Regions from separate parts of the Homo sapiens genome. Here regions 1, 2, 4, 5, 6 and 7 are each linked to region 3. Evidence: promoter capture Hi-C in 16 types of primary human blood cells and fetal thymus (Javierre and others, 2016). All regions are on one chromosome and are shown on one strand. Each heading gives the region's core, a stretch centred on a gene start or on the middle of the fragment in contact. The rest is flanking DNA. Distances are from core to core; before and after follow the strand shown.

Region 1 (3,589 bases), core at 82-2,581, 4.0 Mb after region 3:
GTAAATAGAAACTGGGAATTGAGAGCAGCTTCTTTCAGAAAAGCCAAGAGCAGATCCACGTAGTCTCCACACCTTCGTTTGGACCGTGACCCCTGAAGCAGACCAATGAGCCCAGGGTGTCCACGTGTGAGAGCAAAGCCTTTCCTCTCTCCCAAAGGGGATGCTTTAGGTACCCAGCCAGTACAGGAGCGATCCACCAAGCCAGAGAAAATGTTCAGCCTCCGTCTCGGTCACATAGGAGGATAACACTGACATTTCAGTGTATACTTTTGTCTGGTTGAACAAACCTCTTTCTTCTAGAAAATAAGGCTAGGTAAGATGTTTGTATTTATTTATTTATTTATTTTTGAGACGGATGTAGCTCTGTCGCCCAGGCTGGAGTGCAGTGGCGTGATCTCAGCTCACTGCAAGCTCCGTCTCCCGGGTTCACACCATTCTCCTGCCTCCGCCTCCCGAGTAGCTGGGACTACAGGCGCCCACCACCACGCCCGGAGAATTGTTTTTGTATTTTTAGTAGAGACGGGGTTTCACCGTGTTAGCCAGGATGGTCTCAATCTCCTGACCTCGTGATCCGCCCGCCTCGGCCTCCCAAAGTGCTGGGATTATAGGCGTGAGCCACCGCGCCCGGCAAGATGTTTTTATTTTTAATAATCCTTAAGGGATAAAATCCATCCAGGCAGCCTAGAGAGGGTAATCCATAAATCAGACATCAGAGATAAGATTTCATTGCACAGTAACTGTGAGTGGGGAGAGAAGCTTGGCAAGGATTCACTTGCCCCCTACATGGTCTCAGACTAGAATATCACTGGAGCTGAGACCGGCTTCCAGGCAGACCTAATGAAGGTTGCCTTCTGCCTCTGTAGACAAGAAGTCCAACAGGAAGTAATATACATGTTTCTATAGCACCTTCCTGATCTGCAGTTTTTAAAATAAAGCGAGGGCTCTTTTTTACTAATTGTATACCATTGTATAAATGTTGGTCTTTATTATTATGTGGAATAAATGCAATAAAATTGAGAAGGAAAATGTGCCAAAGGTTTATTGCATGCTATGAAGAAGATTGAACCTGGATTCAGAAGGCCTGGGCTCTCCCGTTGCTGTATACAACCAAGTCCTCAGCTGACTCACATGGGCTCTCAGTTTCTCTGTAAACCAGGGTGATTGGAGGGGTGGCAAATTGGTAGCTCCTGGGCTGAACGTTCAGTGCTTCTCAAAAAGTTGAATTTAATCACCTTTAAATGGGACACCTGCTCTCCAGATGGCCAGGGTCCTGTCACCTTTTTGTCTCATATCCGGTTTTCCTTCACACATTTACGATACCAGCCTAGCCCTGAAAGCGTCTGAGCTTGAACTTAGAGAATCTCGAGGAACTTTCCCAGTCTTTAAAAAAAAAAAAATCCACGATGTTTTGACACAGGATATCAACCACTAATGCTCCCTCTTTCCCTCACTACTTGGATGTCTCAGCTTGAGCTGCATTTTGAAAATGAAGAAAGAGATAAAGACAGCCTAGCAGGAGGAAGGAAAGGCATTTGTTAAGATATGACACTGGGCAGCGCCACCCCACATTCCAGAACTGCAAGCAGTTGGGCCTGACTAGAGAGAAGGGTGTAGGAAGTGAGGTAAGGGGAATAGAAAAACTGAGGCAAATACTGAAAGGAATTGTGATTTAACTGGAAGTCCTGAACTTTGTCCTGAAAGCTGGAGAGAGATGGGAGAGCAGAGAGGGCATTGAGGGCTTTTAATCTGCTAAATTTCTGTTTTAAGACCATCATTTTGAAGGCTGCTTGGAGGATAGGCAAATATCTTCCCCACTAGCAAAAAGTACTTTCCCCAGCTGTAAAATGATGGGCATAGATCAAAGGTTCACAGTACCGTTGCATATAAGAATTGCATGAGAAGCTTGTAACAGTGCTGATAACCTAGCCTCACACCAAGAGATATTTATTTAATTGGGTGGGGAGTGTGGGGGGCGGAAGGGGTGGGTAAGGGTACTTATTAAAGTGTGAGACCCTTAAGGACACTTCCTGCTCTGAAATTCTATCAACTATGTCAAGGGAGGTCCCCATCATTCAAATTGAAGAATGACGAGGAGCCATTTCCTTTGCATCTTCAAACCCCAAAATCTGAAGCGAGGTTTAGAAAGATGTCCCAATAGTTTACATCACTTTTCTTTAAATTAGCTGTTTTTCTTGGTCATATCCAATTACTCCCTGAAAAAAAAAGAATTATTTCATAGTATGATTTCAGACTTCTATTTTAGAATTTTACACTGTCAAATCATTTTGGTGTGAAAAAGTACCAGCACCTCCCAAATAAATGGAAAACAATTATAAAATAAGCAAAACCTATTTGCAACCAATAAAGGATTGTTTAAAATCAGTAAATGAGCATATATATCAATCCTTAGTCTGTGTAACATTTTCCAGAATGAGTCATTCCAGGCTTGTGGGCGAATAGGCTCCCTGCTCATTTTCTGCTTCTATCTTCTCCTAGTCAGAACCTGAGAGTGTTTACTTGCTTGCTTTTTTTTTTTTAAGTTAATATTTATTGGGTAATTCGCATAGGCCAGGCATTGGGCCAAGGGCTTTACAAACAAGTATCTATCACCACTGTATTAATAAGGAAACTGAAGGGAGGACAAATAACTCAAGGACACAGAGCTAGTAAGAAGCAATGCTGGAATTTGAATCTGCAATCATGTGCCCTAAGTCCATGGGCTTCATTCACCATGACCCCACACTGTTTCACCCCTCCTCCACAGCTCTCTAATTTTACCTTGTCTCCTACCCTGACCTGCGGAGCCAGATTCCACTCTGAGTTCACTGAAGGTATATGCAGAGGTAGATTAAGGGTACACACACCCCTGAGACCATTTGGTCCCCGCTGTTGGGTGTAAGTTTGCTGTCAATAGGGCGCCCTCTGCTGTTTAAACAATGTAGAGGTGTGTTAAATATAGAGGGCCATGAAGATTTACTTCTTAGGAGGAAACCAATTTTTTTTAGATACCTTTTTTATTGTATCTTCATAACAACTCTGAAAAATAGGACTTATATTAATTTCACAAATAAGCATCTGCAGATCAGGGAGCTAGATTTAAATCCACATCTATTTGACCTTAAAGTCCAGGTCTTTTTTTTTTTAATTATTATACTTTAAGTTCTGGGGTACACGTGCAGAACGTCCAGGTTTGTTACATAGGTATACATGTGCCATGGTGGTTTGCTGCACCCATCAACCCATCATCTACATTAGGTATTTCTCTTAATGCTATCCCTCCCCTAGCCCCCCACCCCCGATAGGCCCTGGTGTGTGATGTTCCCCTCCCTGTGTCCATGTGTTTTCATTGCTCAGCTCCCACCTATGAGTGAGAACATGTGGTGTTTGGTTTTCTGTTCCTGTGTTAGTTTGCTGAGAATGACAGAGGAAACCAATTCTTGAGATAAATGCATCCCTTATAAACAAACAACTGTACCTCCCCATCATAAAGAAAACACTCCTGCTCCACAGATCAATCCAAAAAGGGCTTCAATCCAAAAAAGCCAGAGACATCAGTCTCATCTTTCAAGACTGATTATATCCATATTCA
Region 2 (3,549 bases), core at 156-2,655, 3.4 Mb after region 3:
TACTGGCACATTTTTGTTTTATTTCTCTTCACTTTATTGCATGTTGCAGATATTTTTTTTTTTTTTAAATTGAAGCTTTTTGACAACACTGTCCAGCAAGTCTATTGGCACCATTTTTTCAACAGCACATGCTCACTTTGTGTCTGCGTCAACACTTTTTTAAAGCCATAAAGTGCTTTTAAATTAAGGTAACTGCATTGGTTTTTTTTTTTTTAGACATAATGCTATTGCACACTTAATAGACTACAGAATAATGTAAACATAACTTTTTATATGCACTGGGAAACCAAAAAATTGTGTGCCTAGCTTTACTGTGATATTCACTGTTGCAATGGTCTGGAACCAAAGCTGCATTATCTCTGAGATATGCCTGTCATTTTGAATTAGAAAGAAGCTTCCCAATCAATGTTCTGAATGTGAGCATTGTCTGTATCTTAGATTTTTTACAAGTTGGAAAACCAAGTTAGAGGCTGGGAGAGGCATGTGTGTATTTTGCATATTGGGGAGGGAAGGAAGAGGGGCTAGGAAAAGGAAGTGTGTTAAGTCCTATGACTGAAATCCAGCTATGTGTGATGCCAATCCAAATGGATCTTGGACCAGAGAGGGCAGAATAGGAGGAGGGAGGTCCTACAAGACTGTGATGGCTTCTTTCTCCTTGGGGAGGCTTCCTGAACATTGTTAGGGGATTCATTTCATGCACAGTATAAGTCTCCAGGCCTGATGATTCATCATAAATTTTTCTGGGCCTGTTTTAAGTCCTTGAAGATAATAGAAATCTGCATCTCTGAGGTGTGACCATGCAATGGAATACTACACAGCAATAAAAAGGAATTATGGATACATTCTACAACATAGATGAATCTCAAAATAATTATGCTAGGTGAAAGATACCTGAAAAAATACATTATGATTCAATTAATATGAAATCGTAGAAAAGGCAAACTAATATAGAATGACAGAAGATCACCAGTTGCCTGGGGATAAGGGAAAAGGAAGGGTGAGAAAGTTGTATGCCAAAATTGATCAAATTGTATACTTGATGTGTCATTTATTGTATACCTATTATACTTCAATACAACCGTGAAAGAGAAGGCAAAAAGAATAAAAATTAACCTCTTTTTATCAACTCCAACTCAATTTAAGGGATTTCCTAGGTGAGCAGGTGGCCAGACCTCCATCTATTTGGGGAACTAAAACATAATCAGAAATACAAGAAAAATGTATTAACCAAAACTCTTCTCCAGGAAGATAGGTGGTTGAGAAGCCAGTTTAGCGGAAGTAAGATTCCCAAGAGGCATGTTCCAATAGTAACAGAGGCCCACTAAAAAGGGCGGGTGTGATCATCTGCAGGGTTTTTAAAATTTCCGAGTAGGAGATGCAACTTTGGAATTAGAGTTGAGTTTCTTGGGATGCTGGAGAAGAGGCTGCTTGCTTCTACCAGTGCTCTTCATTCTCTATTCTTCCCTCAAGGAACACTTAGCTTTTGCCCCCAATATGCTGAGAACAAATACTTAGAGAAGATTGGTTTGAAGGTGTGCCAATTTATCATTAGTCTGCTTGGCCCCAGTCCCAAGCCCAGTGTTGAAAGGGGTAGAGCCAGCTGTACTTCTAGGGGCAATTCTCTCCCTGCCACCCAGAAGGAATTTGGCAATCCAGTTTCTGAAAGGAAAGAGTGTTTTGAAATCATTTTTGTAGCAAAAGCATGTATAATACTTGGAGAATAATTGTAATTCACAAGGTTGGGACGAAAGGAACACAGATGGTGAAGTCTGGGAAACCTGACTCACAGTTTTTCAGAGAGTAGAAGAGGGGGAAAAGGTAAAAAGAGGGAAGTCAACCTACCAGAAACAGGGCCACTGCAGTGCCCAGGATGAAACCAGCAATCACGTCCGAGCAGTGGTTCCGATACTCAGAGACCCGGTTGAGGCCTGTCAGGAAGGCTGTGCAGAGAGTTCCGAGGCACAGCACCGGCTTGGCCAGTCGACTGCTCTTCGTCTTGATTGTGCTTGTAATATACATCTGGAATAGGACAGAGGCCAGGGAGTGACCAGGCAGCTGCCTTGTGCTATGAGTACACATGCAAGCAAGCAGGTACATACACCAGCATACACAAGCAGGGGCTTGTGTCAAAGCAACCACACTAACTAGTATTCCTTGAACAACTCCATTAAGATATTTAATAAATTATTTAGGTAGGAAATCAGTGCAGCAAGAACAATGAACAGATGTACATTCTTCAGTCTTTTGTAATCTAGTGGACATGTCAACAGAAGTTATTAGTGACACAAAGAACGCATTAACGATTAGATTCAGAACATGCAGTTTTTATGTGACAAGTTTAAATATCATTTGGGGTATAAGAAATCCATATGAGAGTCTGAGATACCAAATAAACCTTCTATGGGAATGAAGCTTTTGGTGGAGAAGACCAGGTAGGAGAGTGACTGTAAGTGACCGTACATTTTATTTTTTGTGTCCCCAAAAGTTCCTAGTTGCTTTGTCACACCTTCAGGTGATTAATACCAACAAAGTGTTGACTGATGAGTTAGTTGATAGGCTGAATTAGAACCTCCCAACAACTGCATCACATAAATAGGTTTCAGCTGTGCTAGTAAATTGACTCATACATTCCTCAGGACAGCTGTGATCAGCTTTATTCATTCATTTACTCCACTGTTTCTTAAAATATTAAAATTTTCTGTGTGTTCCACAAGATACAAAAGGTCAAGAAGACCTGAGCTAAGTAAAAGATGATACACGTTATGACACCTGAGATGTAGGCGGCTGTTATTAGTTTGTTGTGAGGTGCTGGGTAAGACTCTGACGTTTTACAGGTTCAGTTAGCAAATGTGTCCCTGGTGGTTTAGAGTTAGGAAGCCATGCCTTTTTCATGTAAGTACACTTTTTTAGCTAACCTTTGGTAGTAGTTACAAAACACCACTAGAGGGCACCATTGGTCTATCATTTCTTAACAAATGTGCTATGTGAGCTTAGCAATTCTAAAAAATAATATGCTGATACTTATATAGTATGTGTATATGGCCTGAGCACATATAAGTTAAAATAGACGCATTTTACAGTATTACAATAGAAATTCTTAATATTCTAGAATGATACCTCAACACTGGTGAGAATACCAGAAGATAGGAATCTCTTCTATATAACAGATTCCCTATAAAACTGGTTACATCACAGTTACATAAATTACAGCATATTATTACACTATTTTCAGACTCTGGTAAATGTTACTTAAAACCTATGCTGCATATATTCAGTTGTTCATGCTATTATGTTTTCCAATTATATCTGTCATAAATCTTTCCTATAAGAAAGATTAAAAACTATTAAAAGCATGAGCCTATGGTTAGTTGGTATTCTTCATAGTATTAACCAGTACTTAGGAAATCCTTGTTGAGTAATTTCTGAAAGCATTTGACATGTAATAGCGGCTCAGAAGATTTATGCAATTGGAATCTTATATCAGGGTTTATCTGACTATAGTCTGTGAGGCATGATTTGAATTGGATAACATCTGAATCCTTGAGAACA
Region 3 (3,560 bases), core at 387-2,886:
AAAAACAGCTGCAGCTGCCCCTGCCTTTTGTGGACACTCTTTTTGTGCTTTTAAACCAAACTCTAGTAACAATGTTGGTCAAGAAGCAAGTGCCTAGTATCCATAATTTCAAAATTATTATAATAAAATATATCAGGAGATAGGCCAATGGGGCATTTGTGACAAATGGATTTCAGGTTGATTCGAGGAATTTGTATTTGGAGGATAAAATAGTTGATCAAAGGTACACATTTTTACAATTTTGGGCAGTATTAATATACAGTAGGGAACCTACAGTGAGAGAGGGAGAGAGATGTGGACAGGTGGTGCCAGAGAAGGAAGACTGCAGGGGAGCCGGGTATGGTGGGGGAGCCGGATGGGAGTTAAGAATTTTGTTGCAGGGATGACTTTTAGCTGCTAGGGCAGAAATCATGAGTCGTCCATCCTCCCTTATCTCCAAGTTAGGGATCATTCCCACCAGCAACGACCTCCACTTCACTTAAAAGAGAACAACTGATGGACATTTCTAAAAACTTAAAGTTTGGAATCATGCCATAAGGACGTCATTCCTGGCCCTGCCCCACTGGAGAATCATTAGGGTAAAAACTGCATTGTTAACCCGGGGTGAATGGACATGAGCTGCTCTTCTTTAGTGCTCCTCAGTCTGTCTCTAGGACAGGTTAATCCCCTTCCCATCCTGCCCCTTCAGAAAGGAGTAAAGTCCTAAACATCAAAAGGAAAAGAAATTTCTAGGTTGAAGCCACAGAATAGGCCACTCCCGAAAGTTAGGGCAGAATCACAAGCTCCATTTTGTCCATTTCTCATCTAAGGTTAAAAGAGTCTGTCTGTCATCGTCCGGTTTGATAGGAGGCTCCGGTCCCGCCTGGTTGGGGGAGCGACCACACGAAGCGCGGGTGGCGGGCAGGGTCCAGCCCCACCGGGACCCTGGGCCTCCTCTTCAAGGGTCTCCGCGAAATGCTCGGAAGTTGTGTGCTTCATTTAAAAGGGGGAGGCCGGTTCCGTGGCAAGCGGCTGGTTGACAATTCCCTCCTTCAACCTGATGTCTAGAGAGGGCGGTGGCTTGGAAAGCTACGACTCCACCCGCGGCTCCACAGCGCCAGGTGACAACATGGGAGCGCTCGCTGGGCCGCAGCCGCGACATAGCTGGGCAGCAAAAACGAAACAGCCGGCGCCATGGGAGTGTCCCGGTGGGTGTGGCATCCAGGCTAGAAAAGCCTTCTGACCACCACTGCCCGCGAGACGACCCCGGCTGGGGGTATTCCCCTAGCAGCGGCCTCCTCCTCACGCGCGTTCCGGGTACCCCTGTCTTGGGGTTCCGGGGCTCACGCTAGAACCTCACCGGGGCCCCAGGTCTGGGCGCGCGTGGCGGAGAGCGCATGCGCATTGCTCGCACGTACCCGGAACACTCCCCGCCCCGCCCCTCCCCTCCCGTCGGGTGAAGGCTTGGGTACCCCCGTGGCCGGTACCTGAGGCGCCAGCGTCCGTGAGGCCAGCGCCCGAGTCAGGGCGCTTCTGAGGACGAGCATGGCGCGGCTTCGGCGCTGAGAAAAGCAGCCAGCCGTGTCCTTTCTGAGACTCCTCTGAAGGTTTCCCGAGTGGAAAGGAGCGGCTCCTGGATCATTGGCAGACGCAGGCTGGGGCGGGGCTCGGCGGGGTCAGCTCCACCCCGGCGCGGGAGGCGCGGCGGGTCCCGTAGCTTGGTGTCTTTCTCTGCTGTGCTGAGCGTTGGTTCCCCCTTGGTTTCCTGAAACGTTCTTACCCCAAACGTTAGAGGTGACGTTAGGATTAACTGAAGGCTCGGATCGTTCCTGCTTCAACTTTCTGGGCCCTCACTCACCTCATTCGCTCCAGTGCTCAGTTGTGTAGATTGGTAAATGTGCAGGGGTTGTGGGTGTGTTGACCATGGGGAAAGAAGGAGAGGTGTTGAGTGCGTGCATGTGCAGTGCTTTGTATTTAAAATCGTGGAGGTTTTTTCCGAGTTAAGTTTTAGATGTTGTGATAGACGTGTATTTGAGCCTGACCTCTCTGCAATGAATGTGTTCTCCATCTTAGAAGGCTCCTAATTAAGATTTAGATTAAATTTTCCACGAGCTCAGAGAAATGGCAGCATCGAGCCTGAAATGAAAAAGTCAAAGTTAAACATACCCTGGTCTAGTCCTCCCAGTCCGGGAGTGTTGGTTCCCAGAGTAACCACCTTCAACATTTCAAGCTGTTTCATTTAATGCTTGTTTCTGTATTTTTAAGTAAGTAGTGTTTTCTGCTGTTTATTGCATTTTCAGTTATGGATAGTATGTGTTGACTTCCTTCTGTGGCAGATGAGGATTTATGTCTCATAGATGCCACTGCCCCCAAATTCACTTGTCTTCCTGCATCTAATAATGCTTATGTTAATTTACAGTAATTAATTACACTATTAATTTACAGTAATCTATATTAATGTTTACATTATTCTTGCTAATAATTACATTATTGTAAACATTAATGTAATATTGCTTACATCATGAGGACTAGGGAGGGATTGCAGGGCCATGACCTGGGTTGTATTGGTTGTGCCTTGTGGAAGAGCTTTGGAATTGTCTGTTCAAAGGAAGGGAGACTTTTTAAAATTAGTTATTTCGGAAGGGTTGCCTCAGTTTTTCTAGAAGAGAGACATCTATTTGTAACCATGCAAGACTAAAAAAATCATTTGTATCAGGACTGGATCTATATGAGTAAATTATTTTCTTAGACCTTTTTTTTTAAACCCTGTAATTGCCAATCCATTTACTTATTCAACAGATATTTACTAAATTCCTTCCATGTTCCAGGCACTTTTCCAGAAACTGGGGTACAGAATTGAGCAAAATTCAAAGTCCCGTCCTCTTGGAACATCCAGGATGGAGGAAACAGATAAAAAAAGGAAGAGTAAATATATCAGGGATTGTCAAATAATATAAAGAAAAATAAAGTAAGATACGAATAAAGGTGCTAGTGGAATTCTAAAAGTGGTCAGGATTCTAGCTATTGACTTGGATATTTAGGATTTAGGTTTCTTCATACCACTCCCTCAAAATACACTTTCCTTCCTGCGTTTATTGATGTTTACATTAAAAATATATTTTGGAGTGAGAAAAACATGTTAAAAGCACTGTAAGCACAGGTGAATCTCTTCAAATAGTGGGCTTCACTGTGAGGTGATCTGACCTGGGTATTTCACTGAAGGCTGTATCCCCTCCCCCCAAACTGTTATCTGCAAGTTATTTATCTGTGTAGTCAGTGTTAGGGAAGGGAAACTTCCAGTATCTTATCTGTGTGAGAAAAGCCTTGCTGCCAGTTTCCTGAGGCTGAGGAGGGAAGAAGGCCAGAACACTCAGCATTTGGTAGTATCTTTCAATAATATATTAATTAGGGTAGATTAAATAGCTCTTGTAAATCAACACTCAAAAAAGTGTATTATTACTCAAACACTATAGGAGTTTATTTTTTATAAGAATACAAAGTGGGTTTTTCTAGTTGGCAGGTAGCTCTTCTATACTTAGTGAATTAGGGAGCCAGGCTTCTACCCGGTGGCTTTGCCATTC
Region 4 (3,659 bases), core at 1,160-3,659, 3.4 Mb after region 3:
CAAAGGCATATTTGAGGTTTTGGCCTTCTGGGCAAGTTTTGGTAGGGTGTCTGTCATTTTCCCTCTACTGCTGGAAAAGAAGGCTCAAGAGGAAGAATCCAGGTACTTTGTATTTTAATCAGGACTATTTATTTGGGCCGATTGGAAATAAGTTAAAATCTCTGCTCTTGAATTAAATCAGAGTTTATTTACCTCAGTGTTTGGAATTTTAGCAGTTCATGAGGACAAATAGTCTTTTTGTTCATTTCATAATCTCAGCTGTAGAGTTGCCCAGAGTGCTCAGATAAGTGTGTCTTTTCATTTTGATTTGCTTAGAAAGGATGTCAGTAGGGACTTGCTATTATGATGATATTGAGCTGAAATTTATATTTCTGAGGAAAATGAAAGGCTATCAGAAGTCATTTGTTAAAATTTCTTTATTCTGTCTTCCCCATCCCCATCAATATTTCTCCCTCTTTTAAAAGACTATTGCCTAGAATTTTATAGAATAAGCCCTCCTATTCTGGGAAACTGTACTGTGGTCCTATTTATATTTTGTTTGAAGGGTAATTTTCTTTTAATGTAAGACTAATGCCATGTTAGAATTAGATTCTGTGAAAATATTTCTTGAAGCTTTGAATATATGTTATACCTATTTATGCAATTCAGGAATGCTTTCTGGTAGTGAAATGTAATGTTAAAAAATACCAAAAAAAGCAAGTATAAGTTTGAGCTAAAGTTAATGACTTTCTAATTGACTTATTTCTGTTTGGGCACGCTGGTTGATGCATGTGATATTTGTATAGAAATAAATTGAATGGATAATATTGTTAGGGGTGGTGAATATCTGAGTTACTGGTGGCAAATCTGTATGGGTCTGCAGCAATCTCATTTCTTGCCTCCTCGAAAGAAAGAATTCAACTGAGGGGCATAAGGCAGTAAAAGAGACCAAGGCAAGTTTCAGAGCAGGAGCAGAAGTTTATTAAAAAGCTTTAGAACAGGAAAGAAAGGAAAACACACTTGGGAGAGACCCAAGCAGGCATCTTGGAGGTCAAGTGCCTCGTTCATCCTTGAACCTAGGATTTTATATGCTGGCCTACTTCTGGCATCTTGCACCCCTTTCCCTTCATCCTTCCCTTAAGGGTTATGGGGAGCCACCCACATGCATGGTGCCCTGCTTGTGCTTGGGATGTGGGCATGCACAGTGTGTTTACTGGAGTTTTATGCATGCTTATCTGAGGCTTTCTTTCAAATTCTGGTGGAATGCCCCTGGAAGGTCATACTCTGCCATTTTGACTCTTAATGTGCATGTTTGAGCTCATTCGCCCAGTTCCTGAAAGCTGCCAATTATCAATTTCAGGTGTTTTTATCAGTTGAGAAACTGCCTCTCCCTGGTGCTGGCTGTGACCAATTGTTATTTTAGAGAAGCAGAGTGACCATCACCTGATAGTCACCTGACATTCTGGTGGGTGGGGGCAACCCTCTCCTGCCCCACTCATGCATGACTAGCTACCTACTGTAACAATATGTAGAAGAAATACTATACCTTAAGCTTATTTAGAGTAGGAACTGCATCTTATCTGTCAGTGACTATGACATGTAGACTCTTGATAAATTCTTTTTGAAGTACTAATCAATTTGACTAAGAGTTGGAAATGTAGATTCCATTTCTGACTCTCATGTATTTCTGTATGATCTTAAGTACTCAATTTCTTGATTACAAGAAAACAAATGAAATACGGTACTTGGAAGCTATAGTATCACTTATTTTTAAGCTTCTCAGGAAACATATTCAATGTTTACTCACCACTGAATTATCATTCTCAGGACTTCTCTCTCTGTAGGCTCATTCTTGTCAGCATGTATTTATGTCTGTGTCTGTCTCATCTCTCATCTATATATACACATATATGCAACACAAACACTGTTGCATATATTTTCTTTTACTTTCAATCTGTCTTTTTTTGACAATGTGTTTCTGAAAAATAACCACTTGCTTTTTCAATTAGTTTGACAATCTGTCTTCTTTTTTATTTTTATGTATGTATTTATTTTAGAGATAGGATTTCAGCTCTTTCACCCAAGGTGGAGTCAGCTCTTTCACCCAGTGGCATGATCACAGCTCACTGCATCCTTGACCTCTTGGGCTCAAGCAATTCTTCTGCCTCAGCCTCTCAAGCAGCTGGGACTACAAGTTTGCCCCACCACACCCAGCTAATTTTTACTTTTTTTTTGTAGAGATGGGATCTCACTATGTTGCCCAGGCTGGTCTCAACCTCCTGGGATCAACCGGTCCTCATACCTCAGCCTCCCAAAGTGCTAGGATTACAGGCATGAGTCACCACGCCTGGCCTGTGTCTTCTAATTGGAGTGTTTGATCTGTTTGTATTTAACGTAATTATTGATATGTGTGGGTTTAAACTCCCATTTCCATTCATCCCATTTATTATTTGCTCCTTTATTCCTCCTTTCCTCTTGTGGCAGATTGCATTTCCCAAAAATGTATACACAAATACACATACAAATACACACACACAGCCAGGTGCGGTGGCTCATGCCTGTAATCCCAGCACTTTGGGAGGCTGAGGCAGGCGGATCATTTGAGGTCAGGAGTTTGAGACCAGCCTGACCAACATGCTGAAACCCCATCTCTACTAAAAAAACACAAAAAAATTGGCCAGGCATGGTGGTGGGTGCCTGTAATCCCAGCTACTCGGGAGGCTGAGGCAGGAGAATCACTTGAACTGGGAAGTGGAGATTGCAGTGAGCCAAGATTGCACCACTGCACTCCAGCCTGGGCGACAGAGCAAGACTCCATCTTAAAAAATAAAAAGCAAATACACATACACGTTTCATCCACTTAAAAAAATTTTACAATGTGATTGACATATCTCCTACTGTTAATAGGTATCAACATTTTCTCCACTTGAATTTTGATGGGAGCTTGTGGCTGCTATTAAATGGCAGAGATTATGCTATGTGATTTCCAGTGCTAGGATATAAAAAGGATACAGCTTCTACCTAGCTTTTTCTCTCTTGTGTTGCTTGCCCTTCCAACCCAGCCACCATGCTGTGAGTAAGCTTGCTCTGTGGTAAGTGAGCAGGTCTGTGCAAACCTACCCCCAAAGGCCAAGGGAGCTGAGACACTGAACAAAGAGAGTGACAAAACAGTTTCTCAGAGAGAAACATTTAATAGGGGCTTACAAACAGAAGCTGTGTCTCAGGCAGCTGTGAGACAAAGGATCCCCTCACTGTTACTCCCCAGACCCAGGGTTGATATACCATAGGGAAAGGATATACATGCTTCAGCAGGAATATGTAGGAATTTGCCTAAGGGTAGGATTTATGGTAGGTGCTCTTATACAAGAGATAGTAGATAAGGCAGAAATCTTAAAGGCATTCCTAGAAGTGGGATTAATCAGATGTCAACTGGCAGATTAGAATTCAAGATGGAGTTGCTATAACCTCCACACTCCAGCTTTCTAATTGGGCTTTTAGAATCTCACACACTGTCCTCTTCTTCAATGGTCTTTGAGTTTAGAGGAAGGGTGCTTGATATTGTACAGCTTTAGCAGCAGTGCACTGGCAATGGGAAACAGATCAGGCCCAGTGGGATTTCAGATGAGAAAAAATGCATAGGCTTTCTTGAATCATCTCTAGTCTTTGGAGTACCATGATTT
Region 5 (3,579 bases), core at 1,025-3,524, 3.3 Mb after region 3:
AGCTCACCAAGGACACCTACGTCTGCTGACGCAAGTCATTCCTCCCTGATTAATGAAAGTTTAATGTCCAAGGTTATAAACTGCTGAGAAGGCAATAGGGAAAGAGCTAATTTATGAGTCTGCAGTTACCAAAATGTAAGCAGCTCTGCTTTAGATCACTGTCTTGGAATGAGACAAACTCTCCAGCTACCTGTACTGTGACTCTAGACAAGTTACTTGCCCTCTCTGAACCAGAGTTTTGTTATGCATAAAATGGGGGTAATAAGCGTTTCTTCAGAGAGTCGCTGATATTGGAGATAATTTATGAAAAGAACCAGGTACATCATAGACTCTCAAAAAAAGGATAGCTATTATTGTTGTATAACAAGAATAATTAGTACTAGTAGCATCTCTCAGCAGGTAGAATGTTTTAGCTATGGTTCTGACTACCCCAGCCCTGACTCCTAACAACTTTCATTACACCCACTCTCTATTCTTTCATCACCATCCACCTCTTGTTCCTCCATTCTCCTTTACCAAAAATCATAGAGGATGAAACCTCACATAGCCCCAAAGCTGGTCACATTGGTCTGACAAATATGGTAGCAGGTGCTTCAATGAGCCCAGTTGAAGATGGGGAAACCAGGAAATGTGCCATCAGATACTAAGTGGAGTCAAGGGAGCTGATAGGACCTTTCCCTGGTCTATCCCTCTACTATCCTCAGGACAGGGCTTGGTGGGAACTTCCCTAGCCAAATGAGCCTCAATATTGTGTTTCAAATACTTCAATTTCCTTCAATATTCACATTCAGTGATGAATACTTACTGTTCTCAGAAGCCTTTGTTTTCAGGAAAAACTTGATGGTGGCTGAAAACATGATGGCTCTGCTTGGAGGGAAATGCTTGTTTTCCTCTCTCTAAGTATAAATGCTCATTCACACCTTTCCTGGCTTTTTGAGAGGTGGCAAAATGCCCAAGATTGATTGCCAGTTACTTGTGTTACCTGAATGAGGCCCTTGTGAGTCTCTGATCTAGGAAAAACAACCAAAACTAAACCAAAACTCTTTTTAGATCACCTAGTTCCGTTTATTTTTTCCTTCATTTTGTTGACATTTCACCTTTTCATCCATAAATTCTGGTGTTACACTCTGCACAATCAAGCATCTTAGTTTTGTTTTCCATTTTATGAATTATTCCAGAGGAACATGTTCATGAGAATTTACCCTTTTTTGTAATTACGGTCATTCCATCACTTTTAGATTTCCCTCATTTATTTGCCTCATTCATCATTTGCCTCTGGAAGCATATAATATTTTTATTTACCTTTTCTGGAATTAAATTTGGGTTTCATACTTAGGAAAAAGCCCTGCAGAATGAACCCATACCCAGACAGTACCATATTTAGGGGTGTTGATGGCTTAGTTCAATCACTTTAATTCTAGTTTTTAACCAAATTTGAAGACAAAAGTACAAAGGTTAAAAGAGAATGGGAATACAAAACAATGATTTCTGGCATTAAATACATCAGAAAGCCCAGCTAGGTTTTGGAGGACTGGAGAAGATGGGAGAGACAATGATTTTTAAAAACAGAATGTTTTGAATTTTATTTCCAATTTGGACAAAATTCACACATGGGAAATTCAAGGATTCAGAATCAATTTCTTTTATTGAAAGATTATTTAAATTTAACTATAAATTATAGAATAAATTGTTGGAATTGACTACTAATGATATACTGAAGATAAATAATGAAAATATAGCATTGATTACCTAATTTGGAAATAATAATTCTTGAATGCCTACTGCGTACAGACACTATACAACTCACTTAATGCTCCTGTGAAATTGAGATCCCACTTTACAGAGAAGAAAATAACGGCTCAGACAAGTAAAAAACAAAACCAAAAACCCGTCACCAAGTTCATGTGTTTTGTAAGTGTTACAGCTACACTAACATTCTTCCTAGTATCATTTAATGGACCCTAGAGCTCCATCATTGACTAGCTGTATGACTTAAGGGAACCTCCTTATCTTCCTTGCCTTAGTTTCCTCATCTGTGAAATGGAGGGTCTGGATTAGGAACTCCACGGTCTAAAGACATTCCTTGCAGCTTTAACATTCTATGAGCATAAGGAGTATATGGGCATGATTTTAAGGACTGGTTGTTTATGAGCCAATCAGAGGTGTTGAATAAACACCTCCCTACTAGGTCAAGGTAGAAAGGGGAGGGCAAATATTGGAAAAAAAAAACATGATGAGAAGTCTATAAAAATTGTGTGCTACCAAAGATCTGTCTTATTTGGCAGCTGCTGCCTCACCCACAGCTTTTGATATCTAGGAGGACTCTTCTCTCCCAAACTGTAAGTAAAAAAGCTTCCTTTGTATACCTGGACAGCACCAGTGAATAAGGGGTTAATAATACTACTAAGCTTATAGAAGGGAAGATTGGTTTGCCTTTGTTTTCGGGAAAAACTTGATGGTGGCTGAAAACATGATGGCTCTGCTTGGAGGGAAATGCTTGTTTTCCTCTCTCTAAGTATAAATGCTCATTCACACCTTTCCTGACTTTTTGAGAGGTGGCAAAATGCCCAAGATTGATTGCCAGTTACTTGTGTTACCTGAATGAGGCCCTTGTGAGTCTCTGATCTAGGAAAAACAACTTGAACACTCCTATCGTTAGGTTCTAATCAGTTTTTGAGATTCCTGTTCATTTCAACTCTCAACTCTCTTTTCATAACAACTACTTATTTTAGTGATTTATTTACATATCTACTGCCTTATGTCATTTTCTACATTCTCTTCCCACACCTACTGGTACCGACACTGAAGTTTCTTTGTCACAGAAACAAACCCTTGGAGTATTTTGCCCTTCGCCTTCACCCACTGCTCAAATGAGGAAATGCAACAGGGTTGGAAACTTCACAGAGCATAGTCATCATTTGATTATGAATTTCCAAACCCTTCATGTTTGACACTTTCTAGAACATTTCCTGCTGGCCCCAGACACTGTGAAGACCCTACAGCTTAAGATAGTAGGAATCAAAAGGTTGTGTATTTTGATACATTTGCTCTACTATCTGAAAAATAGGCATTGTGAGAATATGTTGCCTTTTTAAAAAATAACTTCTCTTTAAATAGTTACCTAGGGCTCCATTAGACAATTTGGATGCACCAGAGCTTGAACTCTGCTACCCTGCTATTCATCACTTTAGCTAAGGCACATCTGGGTAGCACCCAGGCCCAGGTTAGAGCCAGAGATACTGGGGCAGGGAATGGGGAAATGTTGAATATCTAAGAGGTCCTTTGGCTTCATTCCAAGTTTAGAGGAAAGAGCACCATTCAGGACTCGTTCTGGGCTGCTCCGCGTGTGTTAAAGGGCACTGGAAATCAGGCTGTCCTAGGACTGCCCTAGATCATCCCACTGCACTTGTCACTGGGACATTGGGGTGGATAATGAAGCTATTGGCAGCTTTAAGCATCATGTACAAAAGTGCTGCATGCAGTGCCTAGAAATCATGGGCTATCAATAAATAAGCCTCCTCATATTTGCCTTAAAAATCCATTTGTCTTGTACATAGAGAAGCAAATGAACTTTCTGCT
Region 6 (3,200 bases), core at 467-2,966, 4.2 Mb after region 3:
CCTGTCCCCATCTCATGAGCGTTATCAAAGGTTATCACATTTGTCTCTTCTCCTCCCACCCCATCTCCCCAACTCACTGGAATCTGGCTGCTTCTACCCACTCCACTCAAACTGCTCTCAGCAAGGTCCTCAGCGACCTTGTCATGCACCCCAATGAACACTTTTCCATGCTGCTCTCTCTGCAGCTCCTGACACATCTATCTGAAACTGCTGCAAATCCCTCTGTCATCCACAATGCTCACACTCCCGGTTTTCCAAACTCTCTGATCACTATATTTGCCAGAAGTGTGTCTTCCTTCCCCTGCCCATTTCTGTTGGCTCCCACACACATGCTTCCTGGTTAGTTGTTTTTTTTTCACACTCCACACTTTTATGGGGTGAAGATCTCCTTAATGCCATTGTTTTTGCCTTGCTGATGACTCCCAAATCTGTACCTCTAGTCTAGATCTTTCCTCTGAGCTTCAAACTCCTGGCTATCCCACAGGCACCTCAGACTTAGCACCCCCAAAACATATCTTTTCCAGCAAACCTGCTTCAACTTCTGTACACTTTCTTCTTTGTCCCTCTTCTCACTGGATAACATCATGTGCTGTCTCAAGCCAGAAATCCAGGAGCCACCTTAGACTCCTCCCTCTCCATCATGCCCAGCTGTGGGCTGGCTTCCCTAGGAAACAGACTCAGAGATATTGTAGGTGGCTTATTGAGTGATGCTCTCATGAACAGCACCTGTGAGGGCTGAAGGATGAAGGACAGAGACAAGGAGTTGAACACTTAGTGAGGTTTAAACCGGGGCCTCAGCCAATGCTATGGCAAGCTCTGGACCCAGGAAGGTCCTTCAGAGCTGTTCCACGCTGAAGCCAGAAGCCACACACATATCCCTCAGTCAACCCGTCACTCAATGTGGGCTGCTCTCAGGAGGGGGCATGACCTTGGGTGAGGTGGCTTTCTCTGCTGAGGGCAATTCCTGGAGACAGACTTGGGCGAGAGCCATCAGCCGTCAAAACTCCCAGCATCTGGAGGGATGAGTGCCAAGTCTTAGAGGGAATGTGATTGTCACCATAGAACCCACTACATCCCTCATACTCGGTCACCAAGTGTTTTATCTATTTCTACATTTTAACTTTCAAATAAAATCCCTCCCTTTTCAGACTACTCTATCTGAGGCACCATGGCAGGGACAGAGCAATGGGCTGAGCAGACACGGTGCCAGTGCTCAAGAGGTTTACAATCTAGCTGAGTGAATAACCACCTAAATATATATTTTTAAACTACAATAAGTGTTCTTATTGTGTAACAGGGGAGGCTTTCCCTGTCAGGGAGTGACGTAGAGGCAGGGAAAGCTTTCCTGAAGAAGTATCATTTTCAATGGAATCTGAAAGATGAATAGAAGTTAACTAGGTGTATTCTTAGTTGGTTGGGAGGGGAGTGGGAAGAGTGTGGACAGGCAAATGGAATTGCCTATGCAAAGGTCCTAAGACAGGTGGGATAAGGCATTGGAGGACCTGAGAGGCCAGTCTCTGGAATGCAGAAACTGAGGAGGAAGAATAAGAGATGAGGATGAAGTTAGGCACGCAGGAGCCAGATCTTGCAGAGCTCATATTTGAGCCTTTTTTTCCTAAAAGTTATGAAAGCCACTGGATGATTGTGATCTCTGTGTAGTAAAAATGCTATGTCTTAGTTAAGCAGAATATGCAACTGCCCACAATCAAAGTCGATAAAATGGATCATATACATCTACAAAATGGTTTCAAGTTAAATTCTGTTAATGTTAAATGCTAGGGGCAAAAAAAAAAATGCAATGCAGATACCACTATTACAATAGCCTCCTTCTCTATCTCTAGAGGCTACTTGTAGTCCCTCTAAACAATAACACCTATTTTTGACTGCTTACTAAATGCTAAGTTTGCTAAGTGCTTTCCATAAAATATCTGGCTTAATATAACACCTTTAGGTGGGTACTATTTAGAAACTGGGTTCAGATAATATAATTTGCCCAAGTTCTCACAGTCAGTAAATGGCAGACACAAGCCAATTTTCCAGTTATAAAGCTAAAGCTCTTGATTGTACATTGAAATACCCCACCTAAGCTTTTGGAAACACTCAACTTCACAACTTTCAGTATCTCCATGCTGCCTTCAACTTCATTCCACCATGCCCTTCGCAGTAGACTCCCTTTGTAAATCAATGCCAACCTGATGCAAGCACAGGTTTGGAATACACACACCCTTAACACCATACAACAAACCACAGCTACCTTTTGAGGGCCACCACTAGAACCAGGACACTTTCTCCTGGCTCATCCCACCTGATACTTTTTCTCCTCCTTACCAACCCATGATTTTGATGCTCTAATCTCTGGCAGCTGAACCCAGTTCTAATTAATACATGCTAATATATGCTAGATAAATGTAAATTTACCTGAATAAGAGCCAAAGAAAAACAGAGGCAAATCCACTATAGTATTCTACTAATCATCCAGTTTGTCATTTTCTATGTTAAACCTCCCCCTCTATTCTTAATCAACAGTGGATAGGTTCCAAACTGCCTGTGCATAAACAATTATGAAAATATCCACTAGATGTCAGCCTTGAGCTGCAGTGAGGCTTGGGGAGCGGACATGGAATGGAAAACTCTTGGGAGTTTGGGTGATTTCCTTTGCAGTGTAAACTAAGGCAGGAACTGTAGTTAGCTTTTTGTATGAACACAATGGCTGGATTTTTTCAATGAGTATAAATACAATAAATTGGATCATGTCGTTCTTATTAACACGTTCCCATGGGTCCCCTTCTTATTCAGAGTAAAACCCAAAGTCCTTAGAACAGCCTGTGACACCCCACTGCTCCCACATTTCCCACCTCACCCATTTCAACCACACTGTCTCCTGAACACAACTGAAACTCTTCCTAGAAACACCTGAATGATTGACTATCAGATTCAAACATTCTGGTCACCTTACCAGAGGCCTTCCCAGACACCCTTTCTAAAATAGTGGCAGCCTGCACCACCCCCACTCATAATGCCCTGCCCCCTTACCTGACTTCTTCTTCACAGCACTTATCACCACCTAACATAACTATATTTGCTAGTTACTAGTCTTTCTCTGGAATCTCTGAAAGCAAGGGCTCTGTTCACTACTTTACTCCCAGAAGAGTGCCAGGCTTACATGAGGTGCTCAAAAAAATACTCATCAAATAAATGAT
Region 7 (3,308 bases), core at 1-2,500, 3.4 Mb after region 3:
AGGCCCGTGGATCTCATCGAAGATGGCGGCGCGATCTGTGTCGGGCATTACCAGAAGAGTCTTCATGTGGACAGTCTCAGGGACACCATGTAGAGAATTTTGGTCTCGATTCAGGTAAAGCTTTATGGTGGACGGTGGGTCATGTTCAAGGAAAGTTAAGGAGGATTAGGGACGAATTCAAAATAGAGTGTTACGCCATCGTGGTCCCGCGCCTGATCAGAGCAAGGACAAGGAGGTCCGGTTAGGGTCCCGAGTTGAGAAGCACTCATTGAGTGGTGGGACCCAGTCTCTTCCACTCTCGGCCTTAGTTTTCTCATTTTATAACGGAAATACCACCCCCTTTCCTTTTCACTTCACTCATTCATTTATTTATTAAGCAAGCAGGATTAACCTCGTGTGCGAGACACCGAGTGTGTTGTCTGCAAACACATGAAAGCGCTTGGTAAACTAAACTCATTTGCCGGCTGTGTTTCTTCACAAGCAAGGTTCAGTAATGAAGTACTGCCTCCTCCTTTTGTTTGTTCATTCATTCAGTCATTCAACAGATTTCTTAGGGCCAGCATTACTCTAAGCGCCTAGGATACAGCAGGAAAAACAAAATCCATTCTCATCCTCGAGGTACTCCAACATATGAGGAAACAGGCCCACAGGAGGGAAGTGATTTTCCCAAAGTCACAAAGCAAGTTAATTGCAAAGCTGGATCTAGAACATATGTCTCCTAACTCCCCATCTACTGCTTTTTCTGCTGCACGGCTGCACCATGTGTAATTGTTTGAAGGTAAATCTAATTTGACTTAGATAGTGTTTAGGAAATCAAAACGTATGGTAGGAACCCTAGGGAGCAATGTATGCTCTCTTAGGTTTAAAACAAAAACCACTACAATTAGGAAAGATCTTTTTCATCAGTTCAGATATTAGCTTTCCCTCTTCTTTGGTCAATATTTGTTATTATCTCTCAAATCTCTTCCAAGTTTGTTTTATTCATTCACTCAACAAATATTTTTTAGGCTGTTTACTATATGCCAGGCTATATCTTAGGTGTTGTAAGAATACAGTGGTTACTAAAACAGACCAAATTTTTGTTCTCGTAGGGCATATGTTCTAATGGAGGAAGAAATGAACAAATGTGTAATGTAATTTCAGAAAGTGGTAAATTATGAAGAAAACTAGAGGAAATAGATTACTGAGAATGATGATTATATTTTCTTTACTATTTTAAAAATTTTATATATTTAAGATATACAACTTGATGTTGATTATTAGTCAAGATAATTATCATATTCATCTCTTCACATACTTTCTGTTTTGTTTTGTTTTAGAGAAAGGAGTTCTCACTATGTTGCACAGGCTGGTCTTGAACTCCTGGACTCAAGTAATTTTCCCACCTTGGCCTCCCAAATTGCTGGGATTCCAGGGGTGAGCCACCACACCTGGCCAGTTAGAATTTTTGTGTGTGTGGTGAAAACACTTAAGATTTACTCTCAGAAGATTTCAAGTATACAGTACAGTATTATTAATGATCGTCACCATGGTGTACATTAGATCTCTGGAACTTATTCATTCTACATAATTTAAATTTTACCTTTGTCCAACGTCTCTTCATTTCCGCCACCCCTGGTAGCCACCATCCTACTCTCTGTTTCTATGAATTTGACTTTTTTTTTGTTTGTGTTGGAGATGGAGTCTCACTCTGTCTCCAGGCTGGAGTGCAGTGGCGCTATCTTGGCTCACTGCAACCTCCGCCTCCCAGGTTCAAGCGATTCTCCTGCCTCAGCCTCCCGAGTAGCTGGGACTACAGGTGCCCGCCACCACGCCCGGCTAATTTTTTTATTTTTAGTAGAGACAGGGTTTCTCCATGTTGGCCAGAATGGTCTCGATCTCTTGACCTCATGATCCACCTACCTCAGCCTCCCAAAGTGCTGGGATTACAGGCGTGAGCCACTAAACCCGGCCTAATTTGACTTTTTAGATACTACATATAAGTGAGATCATGTGGTATTACTCTGTCTGGCTTATTTCTCTTAGCATAATATTTTCCAGGTTCATCCATGTGTTACAAATATCCTTTTTTAAGGCTGAATAAAATGCCATTTTTTGTGTGTGTATATATGCAAGCACATAATATATACATATATTCATACATAGGTACACATATACATATAGACACACTTATGGCATTTTATTCAGCCTTAAATATTGTGTATGTGTGTGTATACATGTATACATTTACATGTATACACACATGCTGCAATGAAGATGAGAGTGCAGATGTCTCTTTGAGATACTGCTTTCATTTCCTTTGGATATATACCGAGTAGTAAGATTGCTAGATCTTAGGATAGTTAGGATAGTTCTGTTTATAACTTTTGAGGAAGCTTAATACTGTTTTTTATAATGGCTATGCCAATATTCATTCCCACCAGCAGCATATAAGGGTGCCGTTTTTTCCATGTCCTCACCACACTTGTCTTTTTGGTAATGACCATCCTAATGGGTATGAGGTGATGTTTATTTGTAATTTTTTTTTAATGTTTATGGATGCATAATAGTTGTAGATATTTATGGGGTACATGTGATATTTTGATGCAAGCATACAATGTGTAATAGCCAAATCTGAATAGTTGACGTATCCATCACGTTATTTATCTCTTTGTTTTGGGAACATTCTAAATCTTCACTTCTAGCTATTTTGAAATACAAATAAATTACTACTAACTATAGTCACCCAATTGTGAAATCAAACACTAGAACTTACTCTTTTTAGCTGTAGTCCTCTTCTCTAACTGTATTACTCCTTTTAACTGTATTTCTAACCAATCTGTCTTCATACCTTACCTCCTCACTACCCTTCCCAGCCTCTGGTAACCATCAATTTATTACTACCTCCATGAGGTCTTTTTTTTTTTTTTGGTTCACACATAGGAGCGAGAACATGCGATATCTGTCTTTCTGCACCTGGCTTATTTCACTAAAGAGTGTCCTCCAGTTTCATCCATGTTACTGCAAATGACAGGATTTCATCCTTTTTTAATGGCTGAATAATATTCCATTGAGTATATGTACGGTTTTTTTAATATCCATTCATCCATTGGTAGAAACTTAGTTTGATTCCATATCTTGGCTATTGTGAATAGTGCTGTAATAAACATGGAGTACAGATATCTCTGTTAGACTGATTAACTTTCTTTTGGATGTATACCCAGCAGTGGGATTGCCAGATCATATGGTAATTTTATTTTTAATTTCTTTGGGAAATTTCCATGCTTTTCTCCATAGCAGTTGTACTAATTTACATTCCCACCAACAGT

The links. Contacts are between HindIII fragments. The CHiCAGO score rates a contact against its expected background, and 5 or more counts as called.
Region 1: a contact is called between a fragment that was not itself captured here and the fragment with the promoter of NIPSNAP3A in region 3, in 1 of 17 cell types (neutrophils). The highest score is 5.1, in neutrophils.
Region 2: a contact is called between a fragment that was not itself captured here and the fragment with the promoter of NIPSNAP3A in region 3, in 1 of 17 cell types (total CD4 T cells). The highest score is 7.5, in total CD4 T cells.
Region 4: a fragment that was not itself captured here is called in contact with the fragment with the promoter of NIPSNAP3A in region 3 in 5 of 17 cell types (total CD4 T cells, non-activated CD4 T cells, naive CD8 T cells and 2 more); the score reaches 11.0 in total CD4 T cells.
Region 5: the fragment with the promoter of ALDOB here is called in contact with the fragment with the promoter of NIPSNAP3A in region 3 in 4 of 17 cell types (naive CD8 T cells, naive B cells, naive CD4 T cells and 1 more); the score reaches 11.7 in naive CD8 T cells.
Region 6: a contact is called between a fragment that was not itself captured here and the fragment with the promoter of NIPSNAP3A in region 3, in 3 of 17 cell types (total CD8 T cells, non-activated CD4 T cells and naive CD4 T cells). The highest score is 6.7, in total CD8 T cells.
Region 7: a fragment that was not itself captured here is called in contact with the fragment with the promoter of NIPSNAP3A in region 3 in 16 of 17 cell types (total CD4 T cells, non-activated CD4 T cells, total CD8 T cells and 13 more); the score reaches 37.0 in total CD4 T cells.

The regions. Positions count from the first base shown.
Region 1 is chr9:100,700,101-100,703,689 of GRCh38, reverse strand. No RefSeq gene overlaps it. Among named protein-coding and RNA genes, the nearest start is that of CAVIN4, 120 kb to the right of the region's middle. The HindIII fragment of the contact is 1,146 bases long and covers 759-1,904 here.
Region 2 is chr9:101,311,268-101,314,816 of GRCh38, reverse strand. It overlaps PLPPR1 (phospholipid phosphatase related 1), which reads right to left. Exons shown (of 8, transcript NM_207299.2): 6 at 1,843-2,019. Among named protein-coding and RNA genes, the nearest start is that of BAAT, 72 kb to the left of the region's middle. The HindIII fragment of the contact is 2,018 bases long and covers 397-2,414 here.
Region 3 is chr9:104,745,759-104,749,318 of GRCh38, reverse strand. It overlaps NIPSNAP3A (nipsnap homolog 3A), which reads right to left and starts at 1,636. Exons shown (of 6, transcript NM_015469.3): 1 at 1,467-1,636. The coding sequence starts at 1,526. LOC107987105 (a long non-coding RNA gene) reads left to right here and starts at 1,680. Exons shown (of 5, transcript XR_007061705.1): 1 at 1,680-1,870. RefSeq lists an enhancer at 1,073-1,232 and a silencer at 1,653-1,742. The HindIII fragment of the contact is 7,745 bases long and covers 1-3,560 here.
Region 4 is chr9:101,379,913-101,383,571 of GRCh38, reverse strand. All of the region lies in intron 1 of BAAT (bile acid-CoA:amino acid N-acyltransferase), which reads left to right. Among named protein-coding and RNA genes, the nearest start is that of BAAT, 3.3 kb to the left of the region's middle. The HindIII fragment of the contact is 1,306 bases long and covers 1,757-3,062 here.
Region 5 is chr9:101,434,469-101,438,047 of GRCh38, reverse strand. ALDOB (aldolase, fructose-bisphosphate B) reads left to right here and starts at 2,274. Exons shown (of 9, transcript NM_000035.4): 1 at 2,274-2,339. The HindIII fragment of the contact is 11,270 bases long and covers 1-2,354 here.
Region 6 is chr9:100,595,175-100,598,374 of GRCh38, reverse strand. No RefSeq gene overlaps it. Among named protein-coding and RNA genes, the nearest start is that of CAVIN4, 19 kb to the right of the region's middle. The HindIII fragment of the contact is 747 bases long and covers 1,343-2,089 here.
Region 7 is chr9:101,395,307-101,398,614 of GRCh38, reverse strand. It overlaps MRPL50 (mitochondrial ribosomal protein L50), which reads left to right. Exons shown (of 2, transcript NM_019051.3): 1 at 1-114. The coding sequence starts at 23. Among named protein-coding and RNA genes, the nearest start is that of MRPL50, 1.7 kb to the left of the region's middle. RefSeq lists enhancers at 1-293, 1-354, 355-884. The HindIII fragment of the contact is 2,255 bases long and covers 123-2,377 here.